Regions from separate parts of the Homo sapiens genome. Here all the other regions are linked to region 3. The links are contacts of gene promoters, found by promoter capture Hi-C in human tissues and cell types (Jung and others, 2019). All regions are on one chromosome and are shown on one strand. Each heading gives the region's core, a stretch centred on a gene start or on the middle of the fragment in contact. The rest is flanking DNA. Distances are from core to core; before and after follow the strand shown.

Region 1 (4,943 bases), core at 94-2,593, 220 kb after region 3:
ATATCAAGCAGTGCTGAAGAAACGGGAAGGGACTCACGGACAGCAAAAGGGAGATTAATCTACTATTTATGGTGTATTTTTGAGGGTACCAGAAAGAAGAAACCTGCAGTCAGAAATACTCAGTATATTCTGCCCTTTTGAAAGCCAAGTGAGTCCATTGTTCCTGGGGTAAGAGGAACTCTAAAATGCACACTTTTGTCATGTCTAAAAAGTAACACAAATCTCAAGAAGAGTGGAACCTACATTGTAACTAAGGTTCCATTATTTAAAGTCATTTTCCCTAACTTAATAACAAAAGCATAAGAAAGAGCTTGCTCCTTCAAAGACTTTCTCGGGGTAACATAATCTGGGCCTTTATGAAGTCAGGGAACCCCGTCAACAGTGATCACCAGTTATGAAAGCATTTCCCAATGTCTCACCCAATACAGCCAGTAAGACTGTAATCAAAACAATGCAGTTGAGAAATGCAGCCACTAATCATTTTATTTTGGAAACCAATTAGGGAATGATGAAGGAAGGAGAAACAGTGATTCATTTGTTTTGATAAAATCTGGCCTTCAAATGATCGAATGGCCAGGAAATACACATATTTCTATGGTCTAAGGTGTCTTAAACTTGGCCTTTAAAAAAAGACTCTTTCAAAGCTTGTGAGCAAACTAAATCAGCTAGTTCATAAAGCAAAGTCTCTTGACTATGACATAGTCTGCTAACTTTATGGATGTGGGCTCACAGGTAAAAAAATAAATAAAAAATGAAAAATAAAATAAAAACTGCCTACTGGCAGTTACAAACGTTGCAGTTTGCAACGTTTAATTCAACAAGATAGTAATGTGTCATGATCCAATGGCAACAGTCCCCAACCCTTTTGGCACCAGGAACTGCTTTTGTGGAAGACAATTTTTCCACAGACTGGGGATGGGGCCACTGAGGGGTGGTTCTGGGATGATTCAAGTGCATTACATTTATTGTGCACTTTATTTATATTATTATTACATTGTAATATATAATAATTATACAACCCACTGTAATGTAGAATCAGTGGGAGCCCTGAGCTTGTTTTCCTGCAACTAGACAGTCCTATCTGGGAGTGATAAGAGACAATGAGAGATCCTCAGGCATTAGATTCTCACTAGGAGCACGCAACCTGGATCCATCGCATGTACTGTTCACAATAGATTTCATGCTCCTATGAGAAACTAATGCCGCCACTGATCTGACAGGAGGCGGAGCTCAGGCAGTAATGAGTACTATGGGGAGCGGCTGTAAATACAGATGAAGCTTCATTGCTTACCTGCCGCTCACCACCTGCTATACGGCCTGGTTCCTAACAGGCCACAGACCATGACCAGTCTGTGGCCTGGGGATTGGGGACCCCTGATCTATGGAACAGTGGTGGCTTGTGTTTGAAACTGCACTCAATAACTTGGTTTACCTGCCTCTTTTCAAGCAAGCAACACTCAGTACTAAAATTGCAGTCAAAATGTACGACACAGCTTGCACAGACTCTAGTTATTTCTCAGAAAAAATAGTCTGAAACTTCTAAAATGCATAGAGAGGACAATCAGCAAATATCAAAAGTGTGAAGAATGTTCCAATTACAGGAAATCCTGATTAGTATGGATACCACCAATTTAAAATTCATGATAATTAAGGCCCAGTTAGACATCACAATATGTATGCGGAAGAAAGGGGGCAGATGCTGGAGGAGTTGGAGAGGTGATGGGCAAATAGATCTATGGAAAAAACTTTTAAAGAAATCCATCAATACTGACAGGAATACTAAAAATAAGCAAATTCCATGTGAATCTTATTGGCTGATTAAAAAGTATTACCCTTGGCCAGGCGCGGTGGCTCATGCCTATAATCCCAGCACTTTGGGAGACTGAGGCGGGCAGATCACCTGAGGTCAGGAGTTCGTGACCAGTCTGGCCAACATGATGAAACCCCGTCTCTACTAAAAATACAAAAACTAGGTGGGCATGGTGGCGGGCACCTGTAATCCCAGCTACTCGGGAGGCTGAGGCAATAGAATTGCTGGAACCTCAGAGACGGAGGCTGCAGTGAGCCGAGATCGTGCCATTGCACTCCAGCCTGGGTGACAATAGTGAAAATCCATCTCAAAAATAAAAAGTATTACCCTTTGGTAGCATTTTGTAAGCCGTCAGTTTGTAGAGGCAAGATGGTGTTAGTGAAAAAGCACCTGATTAGAAACTAGAAAGCAGCTGCATGGGGTAGTTCTGGGGCTCTGCCACTTTCTAACTTAGTGATTACAGGCAAGTCATTTAACCTCTCTGAGGATCTTAGCTCTACAGTAGGGACAACATCTGTCATCTCAAAGACATCAAATGAGATGTCATACGATCAAATTTGCCAAGTGTGGTGACGTAAACAAAAGGTACCATATTATTTGAACTATCTCTTGAAATGTCCTACTCAACATTTTTCACGCATCTTAAACCCTCTTATACCCTCCCCCAATTCCGTACTTCTTCTCCTTGTGCCATTCAGGGTCCCAGGTCAGAAATCACATCTGACATGGCTCCTGGTGTGTCATGGAGAAAGGGGGAGAACTGAAGGACTCATAGGACCACTAGGGGTAGGGAAGTAGCTGATGGGAACTGGAAAGGGAAAAAAAGCATCAAGATGAGGAGGAATGAAATTAAAGTCATCCTGTCCCTGGCAACACTGCCAAGACTCACTTATGTTACCATGCGAGCTACCATGTGAACTTGAAGGGCAGAAAGTAAAATCCTCTAGTTGAGCAAACAACTCAGTGGCAAGAGAAAGGAAAAATGACACATTAGCAGTGGGAAGCTTAAAGTCCTGGAGGCTGTAAGACTCGACGTGTAAATGGTGGTGTGTCCTGGGAAAAAGGTAGGCCTTCTCCCAAAATGAGCCCCAAGGGACCCTGTGTCTACTTCCTGGGTGAAAATGAAATTCTGTCGTTAACTTGATTTCTTTCTTGCATCCTGTCTCGGTTTAAGTCTAGGCTTGGTTCTGAACCAAGTGTGATCTTTAGGCAAGTTAATGCATCTCTCTGGATCAACTTAATGTTGTCTTAAATTTTAAACCTTCCTTCTTGGTGTCATTTCCCTTCTTCTTGAGGATGTTCTTTAGTGATGGTATTAGTCAGCATTCTCCAAAGGGACAGAACTAATAGGATATATGTATATATGAAAGGGAGTTTATTTGGGAGAACTGGCTCACATGATTACAAGGCAAAGTCCCACGATATGAGGTCTGCAAGCCGGGAAAGAGAGCTCGTAGTGGCTCAGTCCGAGTCTGAAAGCCTCAAAACCAGGGAAGCCAACAGTGCAGCCATTAGTCTGTGGCAAAAGCCCAAGAGCCCCTGGCAAGCCACTGGTACAAGTCCAAGAGTCCAAAGGCCTTAGAACCTGGAGTCTTATGTGGACGGGCAGGAGGAGTGGGAGGAAGCATCCAGGATGGGAGAAGGAAGGAAGCCAGGAGACTCAGCAAGCTTATCCCACCTTCTTCTGCCTGCTTTGTTCTAGCTGCACTGGCAACCAACTGGATGGTGCCCACCCACGTTGAGGGTGGGTCTTCCTCTCCTAGTCCCCCAGCTCAAATGTCAGTTTCCTCTGGCAACACCCTCACACACACACCCAGAAACAATCCTTCAACCCAATCAAGTTGACACCTAATATTAACCATCACAGTGATGAATTCTCAGCAGTAAATTCTTTTTGTTTTTATTTATCTAATGTCTTTATTTCACTTCGTTCTCATTATTTAAAGGCTGTTTCATGGCTACACAATTCTAGATCAACAGTTATTTTCACTGCCTACTTTGAAAACACTGTTTCAGTAGTTCCACTCTTGGTATAGAAAAGCCAGCTGGCATATGAATTGTTGTTCCTTTGTAGGTAATCTGTCTTTTCTCTCTTCCTATTTTTAAGAATCGTTTCTGGTTTTGATGTTCTATAGGTTCACAGGTTTACTGATATGTTTAGACATGAATTTCTTTCCTTTCCTTCTTTGCCGCTTTGGAATTTGATGGGCTTCCTGAACCAGAGAATTTTTGTCTCTCATTACCACCCTTAGAACCTGTTCCAAGAGAGGCCCCTACCCTAGATTCTATAATTTAAAAGACTCCACCTCTCCCCACAGGGCAAGGGGCCTGAAGGCCCAAGGAGATGCACCCACCCTGAGTCTGATCACCATATTCTAGGTATCCAGGATCCTGGAATTCCCTACTTAATTGAATCCATGCCCACATTCAGGACTTGCATGGGCCTTTTCCACAGGTCTATTATCAAAGTGGAATGCTGGCCCGACACAGTGGCTCATGCTTGTAATCCCAGCACTTTGGGACGCTGAGGCAGAAAGAGTGTTTGAGGCCATGAGTTCAAACCCAGCCTGGGCAGCACAGCGAGACCCTGTTGCTACAAAAAATAAAAATAAAAAAAAAATACTAGGTGTGGTAATTAATGTAGTCCCAACTACTCAGGAGGACTGCATGAGTCCAGAAGTTCAAGGCTGTAATGAGCTATGATCAGACCACTGCACTCCAGCCTGGCCAACAGAATGAAACCCTGTCTCTAAATAAATAAATAAATAAATAAATAAATAAATAAAATAAAAATGAAAGAAAGTAGAATGCACCAGCATACGGGCATAGGCCAGAGTTGCCACCTACAAGCATGCTTGTGAGGAGCGTGAACACAGCTTAGATATGCAGGCTGAAGTATGTACACATGTGTGCATGAGGCCCCTCACAGCATGGATAAAGCTGCGGGAAGAAAGACAAAAGGGTGGGGGCCACAGGCGAAGGTCTGGCTCACTCTGTGCTGCTATGTGCCAGCATAGAGCTCTGTGGAGTTCAAGAACTCTACATTTAAACCTCATCTTCTAGAGTATCAGAGAGACATATTTGTCAAGGTAGGAGTATAGACATATTTTATTTCACAGTCTGTCACATTTGT
Region 2 (4,928 bases), core at 2,035-4,534, 170 kb after region 3:
AGCAAGACCCTATCTCCAAAAGCAACAATAACAACAACAACAAAAAGTTCAAGAAGAGTTCAGTTCACAGACATTAGTTTTTGATTCTACAGTACACAACTGTCACATACATGTACAATATTCAGGCACAATGTATGTAAATACAAACACATGAACAAATGAAAATAAAATGAAAAGAAAACCCTGAATTCAAAAGGCTAGTGTTCATGTTTTCTTTGACGTCTCCAGGGGAAAGAAATAATCAGAAAATTCAGTGTTCAAAGTAGACCGAATATTGCAAAGCTAAATGCGGTCCTGGTGAATAGATACTGCTATAAACATGCATATTCACAAAAAGCTGGAGAGCAAAATTCACATGTTATAATAAATGCTTATATGTGCACACAGTATTTCTAGAAGGACACACATAAAACTCCAGGGTGATTGCCTCTAGGTGGGGAAAATGAATAGGAGAGGGAATTACTTTTCACTAAATACCCTTTTAGGATTTCTTACATACAAGTATTTTTATATACATTTAAAAAAAATTAATCCTACTGTTAAAGCTAATCATTTTGCCAGGATCAGGTTTCTAGAAAAGAAAAAGAGACTACCCTTACATTTCAGGGATTAATTGGAGGAGTTTCTGGAGATACCATTTTGAAAATCACAGTGAATTCCAAAAGAGACATCAGTAGAGCATCCAGTGGCTAAAAGTGGGCTCTCCCAAGCCAGATAGCATGAGTTCAAATTCCAGTACCCCCACTCACTGGCTCTGTGACCCTAGACAAGTTACCTAACCTTTTGGTGACTCAGTTTCCTCATCTATAAAATGGAAATAATCATAGTGCTATCATGAAATATAACTATATCAGATCACATAGAGTAATAAAACAGTATTTGGCACATAGTAAGCATTTAATAATTGCTAGCCATCTTTATGTTTACCAGTGTTGCTTTGACAGCTAGGCTGAGTAGCAGGTAGCATGCACCATCAAACCACATTTATGGTGGAAGCTTCTTTGATAGAACAATGAAAAACTTGATCTCATTCAATTCTCTCCCTGACAGGGAATGCCTGGGACCCTGAGTGGGCGTCAATAAACACTGACTGACTGATCGACACTGATTGACTGATTTAGGCTGTCAGTGAAAGTGGAAAGCCTGGATTACTCATCCAGATGTTAGGAACTATTTTTCCCAAAAGACAAATAGCACTTCCAGTCTTTAAAAGACTATCGCTGAGGCTTGTTAAAGTCTACCAACTACAAAATGATAATTCCATTTACTTTCTCTAATTAACTATAACAACGAAAAGAAGAAAACTCAGTAAGAAAGAATTCCTAGAGTGACACCTTCCTAGAAGAAGGTTTAACCCAAGGCAGTCTGCTGTACTAGAACTTTTTTTTTTTTTTGAGACTTTAGAGTCAACATTATAATTCATTTCAAGACATGTTGGAATGAGTTTTAGATTTTTTTCCCAAAACAATAATTAAACCAGCCAGGTCCATACTAAATCTCCGGTTTACTCCCAGGAAAACAAAACAATGACTTGGCAAAGCTGTGACCTAAACTTTGCTCCAGCTCTGCACTTACAAAAGTCCATTCATCCCCGCCTTAGGCACCCATCTGCAAAGTGGAGATGATGATGCCTAACACTAACTCGATACAGATGTAAATGAGAATGTGCTCAGAATTTTGAGCAACTTGGAAAAAATAAGCGATGTATTAATTGAAGATGATTTGGAATGCTCAGACATCAACTTTTAGGGACAAATAAACAATCTCCACCCTCCAAATGCTAGGCTCTGTGAGCCCACTCCACCTAGATGAGCCTTCTCTGGGCCATTCAGCCCCCTGGAATCCCAGAGACAGAAGAGGAGTGAGGTACACAAACTGTGGCAAGAAGGGCAAACAGGTTTCACCCACATCACTAGTGCGATCTGCATATGTGACTCCAAGCAGGCCTTCAGGGTAGAGTCAGAGGTTAAGGAAAGAAAAATAGGTTAGAAAATAAATGAGGCCTGTTTATTTCTCCTGCTTTTTTAAAAAGAAAAACATGGCATTCTAGCAGAAATCCTACTTGATCTAAAGTGAGCTTCACATTTCTTTCTACTCTTTTTTTTTTTTTTTTTTTTTTGAGACCGAGTCTTGCTGTGTCGCCCAGGCTGGAGTGCAGTGGCGCGATCTTGGCTCACTGCAACCTCCCCCTGCCGGGTTCAAGCAATTCTCCTGCCTCAGCCTCCCGAGTAGCTGGGATTACAGGCGTGTACCACCACGCCCGGCTAATTTTTTGTATTTTTAGTAGAAATAGGGTTTCACCATGTTGGCCAGGCTGGTCTCGAAATCCTGACCTCAAATAATCCACCCGTCTCGGCCTCCCAAAGTGTTGGGATTACAGGCTTGAGCCACCGCGCCCGGCCACATTTTTACTCTTATATTCTTAGTTGAAAACAACAGAGAAGTCCAAGTGCCACTCCATCTCTGAAGCACAGATAGCCTTTCTGCTGAAGGCAATGGTCTGGGAGCACCAGTCTCAAATCAGATCAATTTCATACCCACCTAGAAGCTACGAAAGTGAAGACCCATAACCCTTAATTTACTTTTTTTCCATTTATAAAACTAAAGACTACAACAGGAAAGAAAAATAAAATAAAACAGATGTAATTAGAGAAGGAGAGTAGGTAGAAAGAACGCAAAAGTGAAGCCCTCCTGGCCCTGAGCTTCACTTAAGGAAACGAACATGACACCCCAGTACTCTGGGGGACTCCTTGGAAACGCCTTCTTAAATGGGCTCCCCTCCCCTGAAAAGAGAGCGAATTCCTAAGACCTCTTCGTGGTCTGTAGATAAGATGGGGGTGGGGGAGATGGAAAGATCACTTGAAATTCTGTATCCATAAATGGTAGAGTGGTGCTCCTTGTGTACATGATGCTTAATGGAAATCGCATGTTTTCACAAACACGGGTCGATCTTTTTAACACACAGTCCCAATTAACGGTGGAAATTCCACAACGTGGGATCCCAGGGATGTTAAGGCCTGGCGAGTTGGCTTTCTCAAACTTTTTCGGGGGAGCCCGCACTGTGGGGCCCCGGACGCCGCCGTCACCATCCGGCGTGGCTCTACCGGGGCTGGTGCCGGGGCTGGGGGCCACGCTCCGCCGGCGGCGCCTAGGGGCCATCGCGAGAAAGAGAAAGAGACAGAGAGAGAGAAAAAGAGAGAGACAAGAGAAGAGAAAAGAGACAGACACAGAGAGAAAGAAAGAGAGACAGAATATAAGAGAACTGAAGAGAAGAGAAGAGAAGAGGGAAGAAAGAAAAAAAAGACAAGACCCGGGGAGGGCGCAGGCGGGAGCGCGCGGGCGGCGAGGCCTAGGAAGGGCCCAGCAGCAGCGGGAGGGCGCGCGGCTACTCAGCCCAACCCGTGCGGCCCGGGCTTACCTTCCAGATAACAGCTGGAGGACGAGGACAGCCCCTTCTTGGATTTGCAGCCCACCAGCTTCAGGCAGATCTCCAACATTTTCCCGCGCCAGCACGTCGGGGGCCGGAACCCCTCTCCCAGCTCGGTCCGCGGGCCCGGCTCAGGCCCGGCTCGGCCCGCGCGCCCCCCCGGCGCCCCCGGCCCCGCCAGCCGCCCTCACCGCCGCCCCGCGCGCCCGCGCCCGCCCATGGCCGCGGCCGCGTCTCCGCCTGGCCGGGACGCGCCTGTTAACAAAGGGCCCGGAGAGGGCGCCCGCCAGGCCCGCCCCCGCCCCGCCGCCGCCTGCGCCTTAACCCCCTCCTGGCCGCGCCCGTCCGCACCCAGGGGCCCCTGGCGTTCCCGAGGCCGAGCCCGGCCCAAAGCCACCGCCGCTTTCCAAAGCCAACCCGGGCCAATGGCGATCCTCGCAGGGGGAAGGCCGCGCGCGGCCCGCGGAGGTCTTTCTCCGCCTGGAAGCGCCGTCCCAGCCCCGGCGGGGAGGGTGCAGGCCTGCTCCACTCCACTTTAGAAGCCGCGCGCAACTCCACCGCGGCCTGGGGCGTCTCCAACCTGCACCGCTTTTGGCGAGTTTCCCAGTACGCGGTGCCAGGCAAACCCTCTGACCCGAGAACGCTGGTGAAAATGCATATTCCTCTGCAGTTACCAATACTAACTGGTCTCATTTCTACTCAACGCGCGTCCTGTGATTAAGGCTGAGGCAGTGGGTGTCTGGGGAGGAAGTCAGAGCTGGCACCCACAGGACAACCACACGTGCGCACGACACCCCGGTGAGGCCGCACATCCAGACCAGGATATGAGGTCAGGCTGCGAACAGACGGGTGTGAGTTCAGAGTGAGAGGACTTAGTCCCTACAATGAGAATTTTCGGAGGCACGGTCTGGGCCTCTTCTCTGATTCATTTTCTTTAACAGAGAACTTTTCCTCTTCCTTTGGCCGAGTGCCACGGGGTGAGGGTGGGGGGACCATTGTTTAAAATCCATTTCATTCAATTATTTTAAACTCTTGTTTGGACTGACCACAGACAATGTTATAAAGCAGCAACAATCACAGTCGTGTTACTGGCGCACACCCAGAAATCTAGGTCAGAGGGAAACAATAAGGAACTCAATGGCACCAAATAATTCAATAAAATCAGGTAAGTTCCCCTCATGACAGGAAAAGGAATTTATTTCATTTATTTCTTTCATAAATGGTGTTAATCACAAAACTGTAAAGGGGGAAGTTTAGTCCACATCTTCTAGCCATGAAGAGTAAGAGCTGACGTGTATTGTGCTCTTCCTATGTGCCATGTTACCTTCATTAACTGTATTGCATCTGCGTAATGATTCTGTGAGGAAACAGATTATCCCAATTCTTCAGGTTTAAAAACAAACAAACCCCACAGATGCTCAGAGAAGTCAGACACCTTGCCCACAGCTGGAAACAGGCGGAGATGGACTCAACCCAGGTCTGCCTGGCTCCAAGGATCAGG
Region 3 (4,952 bases), core at 815-3,314:
TGAACATTTTTCAGCTTTTAGAAAGACGATGCAGGCCTTATACCATATATTGTGCTAATACCCCCAGTGGGGTCTGGGGCTGCCGGCTGTACTCAAATGAGATTTCAGTAGCAAAGCGAATGAATATTCATTCTCACTAGCATAAACATAGCTTATAAATAGCCTCAGGTCAGGTTTAGCAGCAAAAATGAGTTATAAAAATAATTTGAGTTTTCAAAGCTTTGGGAGGCTGACCTCGAAGATAAGGGAGTCTAACCAGTGATACCAGCCCCTCCTGAAAGGGCAGTGGAGGCTGCAACAGGAAAGACACTTGGCGCTTACCCGGCCACAGAGGACATGGGAATCGGGCTGAACACGGAGGGAGGAGAGAGCATTCCAGCTCCCTGCAGTGGGGGCAGGGGCTGAGAACCGGGGCTGGGTCCAGACTCCAGATTCTGATTCCTGGAGATCTAAGGGCTTCTGCACCTCGGCAAGTCATGAGCAGGGCAGAGAGGCCATGCCACCGGGCGCAGCTGCCCAGCAGCACGAAGAAACTTAGTCCTCCTCCCCAGAGGGTTAAACTTTGCCTGTGCAGTGATGAACATCACAGCTTCTATCTTCCAGAACCCACCCGAGGACTGCAGGCAGCTTCAGGGGTCCACTGAATACCTGAAGTTGACCAGAAGACCCAAGATCAGGAGCCCCTGCCCTAGAGGGTGACCAATTCAGTCCTTGGTGTGTCACCTCCCCAACAGTTCTGGTCTAGGATGGAAAACCATTACAGGGGATTATAATTGCAACCTAGAACCAAAGCTCAGCAAGTGACTCCCTGCCTCTCCCGCCCCACGGGGCACCCCTCAGTCTATCCTTCTGGCTATCTAGGGGTACAGGTCCTGTTTTTTTTTCTTCTTTTTTTCATTCTTTCTTTTTATTAAGAGATAAGGTCTCACTCTGTAGCCCAGGCTGTAGCACAGTGGCACTATCATATTTCATGCAGCCTCAACCTCTCAGTCTTAAGTGATCCTCCTGCCTCAGCCTCTTGAGTAGCTGGGACCATAGGTGTGCACCACCACGCCCAGCTTTTTTTTTTTTTTTTTTTTTTTTTTGAGACGGAGTTAGCTCTGTTGCCCAGGCTGGAGAACGGTGGTGCGACCTCGGCTCACGGCAACCTCCACCTCCCGGGTTCAAGCGATTCTCCTGCCCCAGCCTCCTGAGTAGCTGGAACTACAGGCACCTACCACCACGCCCGGCCAAATTTTCTATTTTTAGTAGAGACGGGTTTTCACCATGTTGGCCAGGCTGGTCTCGAACTCCTGACCTCAGGTGATCCGCCCGCCTCGGCCTCCCAAAGTGCTGGGATTACAGACGTCAGCCACCGCGCCCGGCCTATTTTTCTTTATTTTTTGTAAAGATGGGATCTCACTACGTTGCCCAGGCTGATCTTGAACTCCTGGGCTCAAGCGACCCTCCCATCTCGGCCTCCCAAAGTGCTGGGATTTCAGGAGTGAGCCACCGCACCCAGCCTAATTCCTATTTCTGAGCCCCTCCATCCAACACCATATCTGGGTCCTGCAGCCCAACCTGGGCGCACAGCAGCTCAGGCCTCAGCCTCAGACCCCCAGTGGAGTGGGGACACGGGGTGCGGTGGCGGTGCCCCCAGCCCGCGCTTACCTAGGCGGAGGGTGATGTTGACCGAGGTGGGGTACTGCACGCCGAAGGCCATGGACGGGCTCTGCCACCAGGTGCTCTCGTCCTGGCTGTGGAAGTCGGTGAGGTAGGAGGCGTTGTGGTGGCGCTGGGGGTCGGCGGCGTCGCAGCGCTGGCAATGAGCCCCCGCGCCCGCGGCGCCCACGTGGGGACAGAAGTCCTCGGGCGGGCTGCCGCACGTGTGCGAGGCCTGGGCGAGCCGCCCAAACGCCGCGTTCTCGAACACCGGCAGGCAGCGCTGCGGGCGCCCTGCGCCGTCATAGCACGCGCCCATGCCCGCGCCGGCCGCCCGCGGTGCCAGCAGCGCCAGCCCCAGCAGAAGCGCAGCCGCCGCCATGGTCAAGGGCACCGACGCCGCGCGCTCTGCCGGCCCCGCTCGGCTAGGGTGGGCGCGGACCGCGCGCTGGCCGCCAGGACCCGCCTTCCCCTGCGGGGCGGGGAGGCTGGAGGGAGGGGCGGGCGGCGGCGGCCCCACCCCACTAAAAATACCAGGGACCGCGCCGTCCCCGGGCGCCCACTCCCACCTGCTGGACGTGCCCGGCAGTGCGCGGCTCGGGAGTCTGCCCCAGAGGCGACCCGGGCCTCTTTGAGCCTCAGTTTCCTCGTCTGTGGAGTGGGGTCGGTAAAGATGCAGGCTCATTCTCGCCATTGGGAGGCTTCAATGGCTGCTCATTAAACAGAAACTGTTCAGCAGTGCCTTGGAGTCCTGAGATAAAAGGGGACAAGAGGATCTATCTCTAACTGATCGCTACCGTTTGCGCATCTCCTCCTAGCAATAAAGTGTGCCCTGGACAGGGTTGTGAGATGGCTCCGCATAGCTCCTGTCGCCCTTAACCCTGAAAAGCACTCCTGCTGCCGGCTGCGCTCTGTCCCCACAGCAAAGAGATTCTAACCTGACATTTGTGACAAGGGTACCTGGTCTTATCACAAATGTCACCTCAGAGAGGGCTTCCTTGTCTTCTGCCCCAACCCCCATAAATGCCCCCTTTACTCCCCATTTATTAACATTAGCAAATCGAGGGAGAGAAGTCATTCGATAAAATTTAGCAGCCAGGTCGTGCGCGGTGGCTCACGCCTGTAATCCTAGCACTTTGGGAGGTGGAGGCGGAAGGATAACTTGAGGCCAGGAGTTCGAGACCAACCTGGGCAAAATAGTGAGACCCTATCTCTACAAAAAAATACAAAAATTAGCCCGGCGTCATGGCACAAGCCTGTAGTCCCAGCTACCTGGGAGGCTGAGGTGGAAGGATCCCTTGAGCCCGGGAGGTTAGGCTGCAGTGGGCTGTGATCATGCCATTGCACTCCAGCCTGGCCAACAGAGTCAGACCCTGTCTCGAAAAAAAAAAAAAAAAAAAGGCAGCCATTCCCAGACGAACTCTAAGGAAAATAGAAATAAATTTCCTGGCCTGGCGCGGTGGCTCTCGCCTATAATCCCAGCATTTTGGGAAGTTGAGGAAGGCAGATCACCTGAGGTCAGGAGTTCGAGACCAGCCTGGCCAACATAGTGAAACCCCGTCTCTACTAAAAACACAAAAATTAGCTGGGTGTGGCGGTGCGTGCCTGTAATCCCAGCTACTCAGGAGGCTGAGGCAGGAGAATTGTTTGAACCCGGGGGGCAGAAGTTGCAGTGAACTGAGATCATGCCATTGCACTCCAGCCTGGGCAACAAGAGAGAAACTCCATCAAAAAAAAAAAAAAGAAAGAAAAGAAAGAAAGAAAATTTTTGGAAGCAAGATGAACTGTAGTGGGCTGATTCACTACCAGTTATTTACACATGATTAAAACAATACGGTTGTGGAAAGGACTACAGAATAGACCCATGGAATAAGTTAGAGATTTCAGAACTATATCTAAGTAGAGTTAGTATATGATATCACCACTGGTACCTAAGGTTATTTTGGAAGTTCTAGCTAATACAATAAGACAAAAAACTTAAAAGATATAAATATTTATATCTTCTACTTACCTGAACATACATCTAGAAAATCTAAAAGATTCTACTAAGACTATTAAAATTAATAAGAGCTCCGTAAGATGGCTGACTACAGGATAGAGTACGAAAACCAATGCCAGCAATAGGCATTTTCTGGCTGGGTGCGGTGGCTCACGCCTGTAATCCCAGCACTTTGGGAGGCTGAGGCAGGCAGATCACCTGAGGTCATGAGTTCGAGACCAGCCTGGGCAATATGGTGAAACCCCATCTCCACTAAAAATACAAAAATTAGCCAGGCATTGTGGCACACCTGTAATCCCAGCTACTTGGAAGGCTGAGGCACAAGAATCGCTTGAATTCAGGAGACAGAGGTTGCAGTGAGCCGAGGTCACGCAAATGCACTCCAGCCTATGCAATAGAGCAAGACCCTGTTTTTTAAAAAACAAAACAAAAACAAAACAAAACAAACAAAAAACTGATGCCAGCAATGATGTAGGAAATGGTAGAACACCTAATAATAAATCTGGTATGAAATGTGCAAGATATAAATGAATCAAATTATAAAATGCTACTGAGAGACAGAAAACCTGAAGAGACCAGCATCTATATTCACGGATTTCCAACTGTTTAAATATACAAATTCTCCCCAAGTTAAAATATCATTTAATGTAATTCCAAATTGTTTTTTTGATGGTGTTATGGAAGCTTCTTTGTTAAAGTTTTCTCTTATGGTCAAGAACATGATTGCAGCAGACTCTTGATGGTCCACGCAGCTACCCTGAGCTGGGCTGTGCACCCATCCAAAGCAAATTCATCTATCAGGCACAGGAAACATGGCAGCCCACAGGAATTCTAGGAACCCACAAAAACTGTTCTAATATCTTTAAAGTCAGAAGAAAAAAAAGAACTTTTAGGCTGAAGAACATGTTTTAACGTATGATATTAATATACCCGTCTTTAGATCAATGCAATGGTTAAATATAATTTTTAAAAATGTTAGTGCCAGGCACGGTGGCTCATACCTGTGATCCCAGCACATTGGGAGGCTAAGGCGGGTAGATCGCTGGAGCTCAGGAGTTTGAGGCCAGGCTGGGCAACATGGTGAGACCTCGTCTCTACTAAAAATACAAAAAATTACCCGGGCATGGTGGCATACACCTGTGGTCCCAGCTGCTTGGGAGGCTGAGGTGGGAGAATTGCTTGAGCCCAGGGGGCGAAGGTTGCAGTGAGCCAAGATCACGCCACTGCACTCCAGCCTGGGTGACAGAGGGAGGCCCTGTCTCAAAAAAAAAAAAAAAAATTATAATTGTGGTAAAATACATATAACATATTT
Region 4 (5,259 bases), core at 1,492-3,991, 200 kb before region 3:
TTCAACAACTGAATTACCAGGAAAAATTCAAAAGCGAGATATGAAAGAGGAACCTATACATAAAGAGACTTAAGAGACATAGCAAGCAATCTCAATGTGTGGCCTTTATTTGGTCCTAATTCAAGAAAACAAAATGTAAAAAGAAAAAGAGACATTTATGAGACTTTTTCAGAGAGGCATTTCCTGACCATCTAACCTAAACCATCTTCCCCAATTATTATCACATCATGCTTTATTTCACAGTACTTAACACTATCTGAAATTATACCGTTTTATTAAAGAATGACTCCCTCCATCTAATGGAGGCTCCATGAACACAGCCACCTTTGCCTGTCCTACTCACCATGAATTCCTATATGAATGATTAAATTAATTTGAACAGACCTTGGTTTCAGTACTGGTTCTACAATTTACTAGCTAAGAGTATTCCATTTTAACAAAATGTTGAGTCTTCTGATCCATGAATATGGGATGTATTTTCATTTATTTAGGTTGTCATTAATTTCAACAATGTTTTATAGTATTCATTGTATAAGTTTTGCACTTCTTTTGTGAATTTATCCTACCCATTCTGTCTCCTACCCTTCTAGGACTCTGATTACACATATATTGGACTGCCTGATATTGTTGCATAGATCGTAGAAATGCTCTATCCATTTTTTTTCCATCTCTCTGACCTTCATTTTAGATAATTTCTATTGATACGTCTTCGAGTTCACTGTTCTTTTGTAGTATTCACTCTGCTGTTAAGCCTATTTTGTTTTTTATTTCACGTACTAGATTTAAACTTCAAATACAGATAACGACTTGCGTTTTTGTTTTTTTTTTTGAGATGGAGTCTCGCTCTGTTTCCCAGGCTGGAGTGCAGTGGTGTGATCTCGGCTCACCACAACCTCTGCCTCCTGGGTTCAAGTGGTTCTCCTGCCTCAACCTCCCGAGTAGCTGGGACTACAGGGGCGCGCCACCATGCCGGCTAATTTTAGTATTTTTAGTAGAGATGGGGTTTCACTATGTTGGCCAGGCTGGTCTTGAACTCCTGACCTCGTGATCCGCCCGCCTTGGCCTCCCAAAGTGCTGGCATTACAGGCGTGAGCCACTGTGCCCGGCCTTTCCATTGGTTTTTTTAAGCTTCCATTTCTCTGCTGAGATTCCTTATTCAACCACTGTTTCAACTATTTTCCCATAAGCCCTATGAACATGACAGTTAAAGTCTGTCTCCAGTTCCAATATCTGAATCATCTATAGGTTGGTTTTTGCTGATTTTAAAAATTTAATTGTGGGTGTCACTCTCTTTTTTGGTTGCTCTGTATGTTTGTATTATGGAAGAACAGTGGTGACTGAAGAACATTAATGCTTTTCCTAGAGAGTGAGAGCTCCCATTTCGTCTGATTAAAGTGAGGAAATAATTATTCAGATTTCACTAAGGGTTGATCTGGAACAGAGTCACAGATTTAAGAAGACTGAGCTCACCTCTGGTTAGCCCAACAGTCTCCACTTAGGTTTTAGGTTATTGGTCTGTAAGTATCTGAGGTGGGAGGCAAGAGGAAGTATCACCTTTCAAACAAGAGTTCCAGAAAACAGGAGAATGTAAGACCCTGTGAGTTCTTTCTACTTTTTAGTGCTGCTTTAGTTCCTTTTTCTTTGCAAAGTTGGGGAGGATTAGCGGGGGAGAGCTGGAGGATATGTATGCTGAATAAATTATTGTTGCACTTACAAGTCTTTCAGATCCCAATCTGAGTTTTTAATTTTTATATCTGACTGAGGCCAGGTGTAGTGGCTCACGCCTGTAATCCCAGCACTTTGGGAGGCCGAGGCAGGCAGATCACCTAAGGTGAGGAGTTCGAGACCAGCCTGGCCAACATGGTGAAACTCCAACTCTACTAAAAATACAAAAAGTAGCCAGGTGTGACAGTGAACACCTGTAGTCCCAGCTACTACTTGAGAGGCTGAGGTGGGAGAATTGATTGAACCTGGGAGTCGGAGGTTGCAGTGAGCTGAGACTGTGCCACTGCACTCCAGCATGGGCGACAGAGCAAGACTCCGTCTCTAAATAAATAAATAAATTTGACTGACTGAGACAGGGTTCTCACTTTGTCACCCAGGCCAGAGTGCAGTGATAGGAACATAGCTCACTGCAGCAGCCTTGACCTCCCGAGCTCAAGTGATCCTCCCACCTCAGCCTCCTTAGTAGTTGGGACTACAGGCATGCACTGCCACGCCCAGCCAACTTGTGGGTCTTTTTTTTTGTAGAGATGGAATTTTGCCATGTTGCCCAGGCTAGTCTCAAACTCCTGAGCTCAAGCAATCTGCCCATCCCAGCCTCCCAAAGTGCTGGGATCACAGGTGTGTGTGCCACTGCGCCCAGCCTTAGCATATGGTTTTCAAAGTTTATCTATATGTAGCATGAATGAGAACTTCATTCCTTTTTATTATTTATTTTTTTGAGATGGAGTCTCACTCTGTCGCCCAGGCTGGAGTGCAGTGGCGTGATCTCGGCTCACTGCAACCTCCGCCTCCTGGGTTCAAGCGATTCTCCTGCCTCAGCCTCCCAAGTAGCTGGGACTACCGGCGAGCTTCACCATGCCCAGCTAATTTTTGTTTTTAGTAGAGACGGTGTGTCACCATGTTGGCCAGGATGGTCTCCATCTCTTGACTCATGATATGCCTGCCTCAGCCTCCCAAAGTGCTGGGATTAAAGGTGTGAGCCACCATGCCCAGCCGAGAACTTCATTCCTTTTGTTTTTGTTTTGTTTTGTTCTGAGACGGAGTCTCGCTCTGTCGCCCAGGCTGGAGTGCAGTGGCGCGATCTCGGCTCACTGCAAGCTCTGCCTCCTGGGTTCATGCCATTCTCCTGCCTCAGCCTCCCGAGTAGCTGGGACTACAGGCACCCGCCACCACGCCTGGATAATTTTTTGTATTTTTAATAGAGACAGGGTTTCACTGTGTTAGCCAGGATGGTCTCGATCTCCTGACCTCGTGATCCGCCCGCCTCAGCCTCCCAAAGTGCTGGGATTACAGGCGTGAGCCACTGCACCCGGCCAAGAACTTCACTCCTTTTTATGGCTGAAAAATATCCCATGGAATGTATATACCACATTTTGTTTATCCATTCATCTGCTGTTTGACACTTGGGTTGTTTCCACCTTTTGGCTACTGTGAATAATGCTGCAATGAACATTGATGTACAAGTATTTGTTCGAATCCCTTTTTTTCAATTCCTTTGGGTATTCTACCCCAGAGCAGAATTGCTGGGTCATATGGTAGAAGTACTATATTTAGCTTTTTGAGAAACCACCAAACTATAGTAGCTGCACAATTTTGCATTCCCATCAGCAATGTATGAGGGTTCTAATTTCTTTGTATCATTGCTAACACTGGTTATTTTTATTTTTTACTTTTTAAATGATAGCCATCCTAGGGGGTGTGAAGTGGTATCTTATCTAATTGTGGTTTTGATTTTCATTTCCCTCATTAGTTTAATGCTACTTGATCACCTTTTCATGTAATTACTGGTCATTTATTTTGCTTGCCCCCATCACTGCCAACAGCTCCTTCTCCAGCCAGTACATTTTCTCAGTCTTTGGCAAGTCCTCTCTACTACCTGCTCAAACCCAGACCTGGCATCTGCCCCCAGCAGCTGCTGTGCCACAGTGCTCACACCTATGATGGGCTCCACTCTCTGGAAACCAGTTCAACAAGGCTTTCTGCCACTCTTCAATGGTCCCATTATGACAGATATTTTCCAAAGATGATCACAGCAATACTTCTAGTCACATATGCTCTTCTAGAGCAAGAGGCGGCCTCTGTATCTCCTCTTGAACCTGGATGGGACTTTGTGAGTGCCTTGATGAAGAGGATGCAGCCTAAGTGATGTTCTGTGACTTCTGAGGATAGGTCATAAAAGGTTATACAGCTTCAGCATGGCTCTTCCTCTTTCTTGGAATGTTCCTCCTTGGAACCTAGCCACCACGTTGTGAGGAAGCCCAGGCTACATAGGCCAAATGTAGGTGTTCAGCTAACAGCTCCAGCTAAGGTCTGAGCCAACAGCCAAGCCAACCACTGACATCAGAGTGAGCCTTCAGATGACTCCTGCCTCCAGTCTTCCCTTCTTCCAGCTGAGATCACAGATACTGTGAAGACAAGCCATCCCTACTAAGTCCATCTGAAGTTATGACCTACAGAATCCAAGACTATAATAAATAAGTAGCTGTTGCAGGCTACTAGGTTTTGAGGCAATTTGTTATACAGCAGTAAATAATTCCAATACTGCCAGAGTAAGTGTGACTTCTACATCATCTGGATTTTTCTTGGTGTTATTATGGCAGTGAAGGTTTTCTATATTCTTTTACATCCTAGCCAGAATCTGCCTAGCATCTTTAGAGTTTTCTGAGGATACTTCTGCTACCTGAAAGTTCATTCATTTCCACAATGCCTATCATGTGCCAGACATAGTCCTAAGCATTGGAGATACAGCAATCAATAAAAACAATAAGGCCCCTGCCATCATAGAAAAAACCTTGATTTCAATCTTTGGCCCTTCCAATTGCATACATAATTTCCGTGGTGGAAGAATACGGAGTGGAAGGGGAAGTAACAATATGGAGTTTATCACAGTGATGTTTTCTATTTCTTTGGCTCAACATTGTGCTTGTTAGTTATACATGGAGCTGAAATCTGCTCCTTTTCATAGCTGGATAATATTCTACTATGAGACCAGGTATGGTGTCTCATGCCTGTAATCTCATCAGCACTTTGGGAGGTCCAGGTGGGAGGATCACTTGGGCCAGGAGTTACAGACCAGCCTAGACAATACGGTGAGACCCCATCTCTACAAAAAACTGAAAAAATTAGTTGGGCGTGGTGGTGCACCTGTGGACCTAGCTATTCTGGAGAACTGATAGGAGGACTGCTTGAGCCCAGGAGATCAAGGCTGCAGTTACCTGTGACTGTGCCACTGCACTCCACCCTGGGTGACAGAGTGAGATCCTGTCTCAAAAAAAAAGAAAAGAGGGTTGGGCACAGTGGCTCATGTCTCTAATCTCAGCACTTTGGGAGGCCGAGGCAGGCAGATTGCTTAAGCCCAGGAGTTCAAGACCAGCCTGGGCAACATGTGAAACCCCGTCTCTACAAAAAAATACAAAAAATTAGCCAGGCACAGTGTGTGCACCTGTAGTCTCAGCTACTTGGGTAGCTAAGGCAGGAGAATCACTTGAGCCTGGGAGGCAAAGGTTGCAGTGAGTGGAGATCGCATCACTGCAC
Region 5 (5,085 bases), core at 1,097-3,596, 200 kb after region 3:
TGGCTTTTTCTTCTGCTTAATTGGGGTTTCACTAGTCTTCATTTTTTCTAATTTCTAAAAGTGGGACCCCAAGGTCATTGATTTGGGACCTTTGTTCTTTTCTGATACAGATGCTCAACTTAAAATTGGGTTACATCCTGAAAAACCCATCATAAAATTGAAAAATGTAAGTTGAGACGTCATAAGTCAGGGACCATCTGCACTATATAAATTTCCCTTTAGCTCCATCACACAAATTTTATGTGGCACTTTCACCTTCATTCAGTTCCAGATACTTACTTACTTCGCTGTTGATTTTCTTTGACCCATGATTTACTTAAAATTATGTTATTTTCCAAATATTTGAAAGATCTTCCAGATACCTTTCTGTTATTAATTCCTCATTTAATTCCTTGTGGCCAGAGATCATACTTTCTTTTTTTTTTTTTTTTTTTTTTTTGGAGATGGAGTCTCGCTCTCTCAGCCAGGCTGGAGTGCAGTGACACCATCTCGGCTCACTGCAACCTCATCCTCCCGGGTTCAAGTGATTCTCCTGCCTCAGCCTCCTGAGTAGCTGAGACTACAGGTGAGCGCCACCATGCCCAGCTGATTTTTTGTATTTTTAGTAGAGAAGGGGTTTCACCATGTTAGCCAGGATGGTCTTGATCTCCTGACCTCGTGATCCGCCCGCCTCAGCCTCCCAAAGTGCTGGGATTACAGGCGTGAGCCACCGCACCTGGCCAGAGATCATACTTTCTACAAATTGAATCAGCTTACATTCACTGAGGCTTTTGTTTGTTTGTTTTTTTCGAGACGGAGTCTCACTGTTGCCCAGCTGGAGTGCAGTAGTGCAATCTCGGCTCACTGCAACCTCTGCCTCCCGGGTTCAAGTGATTCTCCTGCCTCAGCCTCCTGAGTAGCTGGGATTACAGGTATCCACCACTACACACAGCTAATTTTTGGTATTTTTCGTAGAGACGGGGTTTCACCACGTTGGCCAGGCTTGTCTCGAACTCCTGACCTCAGGTGATCCGCCCGCCTTGGCCTCCCAAAGTGCTGGGATTACAGGCGTGAGCCAACCCGCCGGGTCTACTGAGGCTTTTAAAATGGCCCAGAAAATGATTTGTCTTGGAAACAGTTCCATATGCACTTGAAAAGAACGTGTATTCTGCTGTTTAGGGGTCGAATGTTCTACTGAACATCAATTAAGTCAAGTCAGTTGATTATATTGTCCAAATCTTCTATATCCTCACTGATTTTTGTCTACTTGTTCTATCAGTTTTTGTGAGAGAGTTGTTAAACCTTCAACTATAATTACAGATTTATTTCTCCTTGAAAAGTTTGTATTTTGAATCTCTGTTAATACATGCATAAACATTTAGAATTATGTCTTGATGAATGTATCTCTTTATTATTATGAAATAATTCTCCTTTATCCTTGGTGACATTCATTTTAAAATATAGTTTGTTTAATATGCCACTAAGGTTTTCTTTTCATTAATGTTAACATATTAACATCTTTTTCCACTCTTTTGCTTTTAACGTATTTGTATTTTTATATTCAAAGTGGGATAACTGTAGACAGCATATAAATATAAATAGGTCTTGCTTTTTTATCCAATCTCACAATGTCTGCTTTTAATGAGGATTTTTTTTTTTTAAGATGGAATCTCGCTGTCACCCAGGCTGGAGGAGTGCAGTGGTGTGATCAGAGCTCACTGTAGCCTCAAACTCCTGGGCTCAAGTGATCCTCCCACCGTAGCCTCCTGAGTGGAACTACACCACCACACCTGGCTAATTTTTTTTTTTTTTTTTTTTTTTGTAGAGATGGAGTCTCACTTGGCTTCCAAAGCTGGTCTCAAACTCCTGGCTTCAAGTGATCCTCCTAATCCACCTCCCAAAATGCTGGGATTACAGGCATGAGCCACTCTGCCTGGCCCTTAATGGTGAATTAATTATTGATATGAATTTTAACCTACCATCTTGCTCTTTGTTTCATATTTGTCCCATCTGCTCTGTTTGCTTTTCCTGTTTAGTTTTTTTTTCTGCCATCTTTTGGATTATTTAAAGATATTTATCCCAACTTTTTTTTTTTTTTTTTTTTTTTTTTGAGACGGAGTCTCACTCTGTCGCTCAGACTACAGTGCAGTAGCACTATCTCCGCTCACTGCAACCTCTGCCTCCTGGGTTCAAGTGATTCTCCTGCCTCAGCCTCCCGAGTAGCTGAGATTACGGGCAGGTGCCACCACCATGCCCGGCTAATTTTTGTATTTTTAGTAGAGACAAAGTTTCACCCTGTTGGTCAGGCTGGTCTCGAACTCCTGACCTCATGATCCACCCACCTCGGCCTCCCAAAGTGTTGGGATTATATCCCAACTTTTTATTGTTGTTGGCTCATTAGCTATAACTCTGCTACTATAGATTTTATCATATGCATCTTTAACTTATCACAGTCTACCTTCAATTGACATTATACAACTTCACATGTAGTGTAAAAAGCTTACAAGAGTATATTTGTTCTCCCACTCCCAGTCTTTGTGCTGCTATTGTCATAAACTTTACTTCTATGTAAGTTACAAATGCTACAATGTGTAATTACCTCTAAGACATATCTTTTAATGAGACTGAAACAAAAAGAAAAAATATCTTATGTATTTATCCACTTAGTTACCCTTTGCATTGTCTTCATTTATTTTTATAGCTCCAGTTTTCTTTTATTTGTTTGTTTATTTAGACAGAGGGTCTCACTCTGTCACCCAGGCTGGAATGCAGTGGTGCGATCATAGCTCACTGCAGCCTGGGACTCCTGGTGGCTCCAGTTTTCTACCAGTTATCATTCTCTTTCTGCTTTAATTACATCCTTTGATATTTCTTGTACTGCATATCTACTGGTAATAAATTCTTCCTTTTTTTTTTTAAAGTCTGAAAGAGACCTTATTTTGCCTTCATTTTTGAAAGGTATTTTCACTGAGAAAAGAATTCTAGGTAGACAACTGTTTTCTTTCTTTGCTTTAAATGTATTGTTCCACTGTTAACCTGGCTTACATTGTTTCCAATGAGAAATCTGGTGTCACCCTGATCTTAAGTATATAATGTATCTTTTTCTTTGGCCATTTTAAACCATGGTTTTAAGCAATTTGCTTAAGATGTGCCTTAGTATATAGTTTTTCTTCATGTTTCCTGTGCTTGGAGTTCCTTGAAATTCTTGGATCTGTGTGTTTACTGCTTTCATTACACTTGGAAATTTTTCAGCCATTTTTTTTTCTCTCTCTATATATATTTTTTGGTCCCTCATACCCTCCCTTCCTTCAGGGACTCCAATTCCACACACATTTGGCTACCTGATGTTGTCCCTCACTTTACTGATGTTGTGTTCATGTATTTTTTTCAGGGTTTCTTTTTTTTTTCTGCTTCATTTTGGATAGTTTCTATGGTTAAGTCTTCAAAATCACAAATCTTTACTTGTGCAATGTTTATTCTGACAGTCTTCAGTGTATTTTTCATCTCTGTATCTTTCTTTTTTGTGGAGACGGAATCTTGCTCTCTCGCCCAGGTTGGAGTGCAGTGGTACGATCTTGGCTTACTGCAACCTCTGCCTCCCAGGTTCAAGTGATTCTCCTGCCTCAGCCTCCCGTATAGTTGGGATTATAGGTGCACGCTACCACACCCAGCTAATTTTTGTATTTTTAGTAGAGGTGGGGTTTCACCATGTTGGCTAGGCTGGTCTTGAACTCCTGACCTCAGGTGATCCACCTACCTTGGCCTCCCAAAGTGCTGGCATTACAGGCGTGAGCCACCATGCCCAGCCATCATCTTTCATGTCTTTACTTAACATATTAAATCTTTTCTTTAGCTTACTGAACACATGGAATACAATTATAATGACTAATGTCTGTAATGTACTACTTATATAATCTGTCTCATTTCTGGTCAGTTATTGGTTGTATGTTACTACTTCTGCTCATACCTAGTAATTCTGGAATGGCTGGTAAACATTGTGCATTTTACCACACTCGGTCCTAGATGGTTTTGTATCCCTAAAAATATTCTTCAGCTTTTGTTTGGAAAAGGTTTGATCTTTTTGGTCTTGCTCTTAACCTTTGCTAAGCAAGACCAGAATAGCATTTATTCTAGGATTAATTTTTCCCAACTATTGAGGCAAGACTTTTGTGATGATTAACATTATGTGTCAACTTGACTGGGCCATACGTGCTCAGATCTTTGGTCAAACGTTAGTCTGGCAAAATGCGTAAAGCAGCTTGGCCTCCCTAATGTGGGTGAGCCCCATTCAATCTGTTAAAGGCCTGAATTGAACAAAAAATCTGACCCTTTCCTGAGTAAAAGAGAATTCTTCCAGCCTAACTGCCTTCGAACTGGGACATCAACTTTTTTCCTGCCTTTGGACTTGAACTGAAACATTGGCTCTGCCTGGGTCTTGAGCCTGTCAGCCTTTGGACTATAGCCACATCATTGGCTCTCCTAAGTCTCCATCTTGCTGACTCGCCCTGCAGATTTTTGGGACTTATCAGCCTCCATAATCACGTGGCAATTCCTTACAATAAATTTCTTCACACGTGCACACACACACACACACACACACACACTCTCTCTCTCTCTCTCTCTCTCTCTCTCTCTCTCTCAAGAACCTTCACTAATACAACTCTTCTTAGTACTCCAATCAATACCCCTGAATCATGAAATGTTCTACTCTGCTACTGGGAACAGGAACTATTTCTGGCCCTGTGTGAACTCCGTAAATGGTTCTCTCTAATCCTTTTGAGTGGCTCCTTCCCTGAACTAAGGGGTTTCCTCACATGGGTGCACTGATCAGTACTCAACCGAATACTCGAGTGGGCTCCCTGGGCATCTGCAGGCCAGTGTTCTCTTCTCTGTGCATCTCTTGCCTCTTTGTTTCTCTGCCTGTGAACTCTAGCTGCCCCAGCTGCCCTGGATTTTCATTTTACCTCTTCAATGAGGAGAGACTGCTGGGGCCTGCTGATGTTCCTTCTCCCCGCACCGCGGTCTGGAAACTTTCTCCGAGCATTAAATCAGAGCAATCATAGGGCTCTATTTCTCAGGTCTCAGGATTCGCTGTTCTTAATCACC

The links. The method cuts DNA at HindIII sites, captures the fragments that hold promoters and counts their contacts. A contact is called where the count stands out against the background at its distance.
Region 1: a fragment that was not itself captured here is called in contact with the fragment with the promoter of LAMC3 in region 3 in 2 of the 25 tissues and cell types used here (dorsolateral prefrontal cortex and hippocampus).
Region 2: a contact is called between a fragment that was not itself captured here and the fragment with the promoter of LAMC3 in region 3, in 1 of the 25 tissues and cell types used here (thymus).
Region 4: a contact is called between a fragment that was not itself captured here and the fragment with the promoter of LAMC3 in region 3, in 2 of the 25 tissues and cell types used here (liver and thymus).
Region 5: a contact is called between a fragment that was not itself captured here and the fragment with the promoter of LAMC3 in region 3, in 3 of the 25 tissues and cell types used here (aorta, spleen and thymus).

What each region holds. Positions count from the first base shown.
Region 1 is chr9:130,790,119-130,795,061 of GRCh38, reverse strand. The region is part of intron 2 of LOC124902288 (a long non-coding RNA gene); the gene reads left to right. It also overlaps a transcript of ABL1 not described here. Among named protein-coding and RNA genes, the nearest start is that of ABL1, 43 kb to the left of the region's middle. The HindIII fragment of the contact is 3,606 bases long and covers 1-3,146 here.
Region 2 is chr9:130,834,016-130,838,943 of GRCh38, reverse strand. It overlaps ABL1 (ABL proto-oncogene 1, non-receptor tyrosine kinase), which reads right to left and starts at 3,690. Exons shown (of 11, transcript NM_005157.6): 1 at 3,419-3,690. The coding sequence starts at 3,497. It overlaps LOC124902287 (a long non-coding RNA gene), which reads left to right and starts at 4,116. Exons shown (of 2, transcript XR_007061822.1): 1 at 4,116-4,225; 2 at 4,479-4,928. RefSeq lists silencers at 3,117-3,166, 3,637-3,946 and enhancers at 3,583-4,108, 4,347-4,396, 4,417-4,466, 4,109-4,635. The HindIII fragment of the contact is 5,982 bases long and covers 294-4,928 here.
Region 3 is chr9:131,006,286-131,011,237 of GRCh38, reverse strand. LAMC3 (laminin subunit gamma 3) reads right to left here and starts at 2,064. Exons shown (of 28, transcript NM_006059.4): 1 at 1,651-2,064. The coding sequence starts at 2,023. The HindIII fragment of the contact is 10,117 bases long and covers 1-4,952 here.
Region 4 is chr9:131,206,197-131,211,455 of GRCh38, reverse strand. All of the region lies in intron 30 of NUP214 (nucleoporin 214), which reads right to left. Among named protein-coding and RNA genes, the nearest start is that of FAM78A, 68 kb to the left of the region's middle. The HindIII fragment of the contact is 7,607 bases long and covers 1-5,259 here.
Region 5 is chr9:130,808,916-130,814,000 of GRCh38, reverse strand. All of the region lies in intron 2 of LOC124902288 (a long non-coding RNA gene), which reads left to right. It also overlaps a transcript of ABL1 not described here. Among named protein-coding and RNA genes, the nearest start is that of ABL1, 24 kb to the left of the region's middle. The HindIII fragment of the contact is 5,337 bases long and covers 1-5,014 here.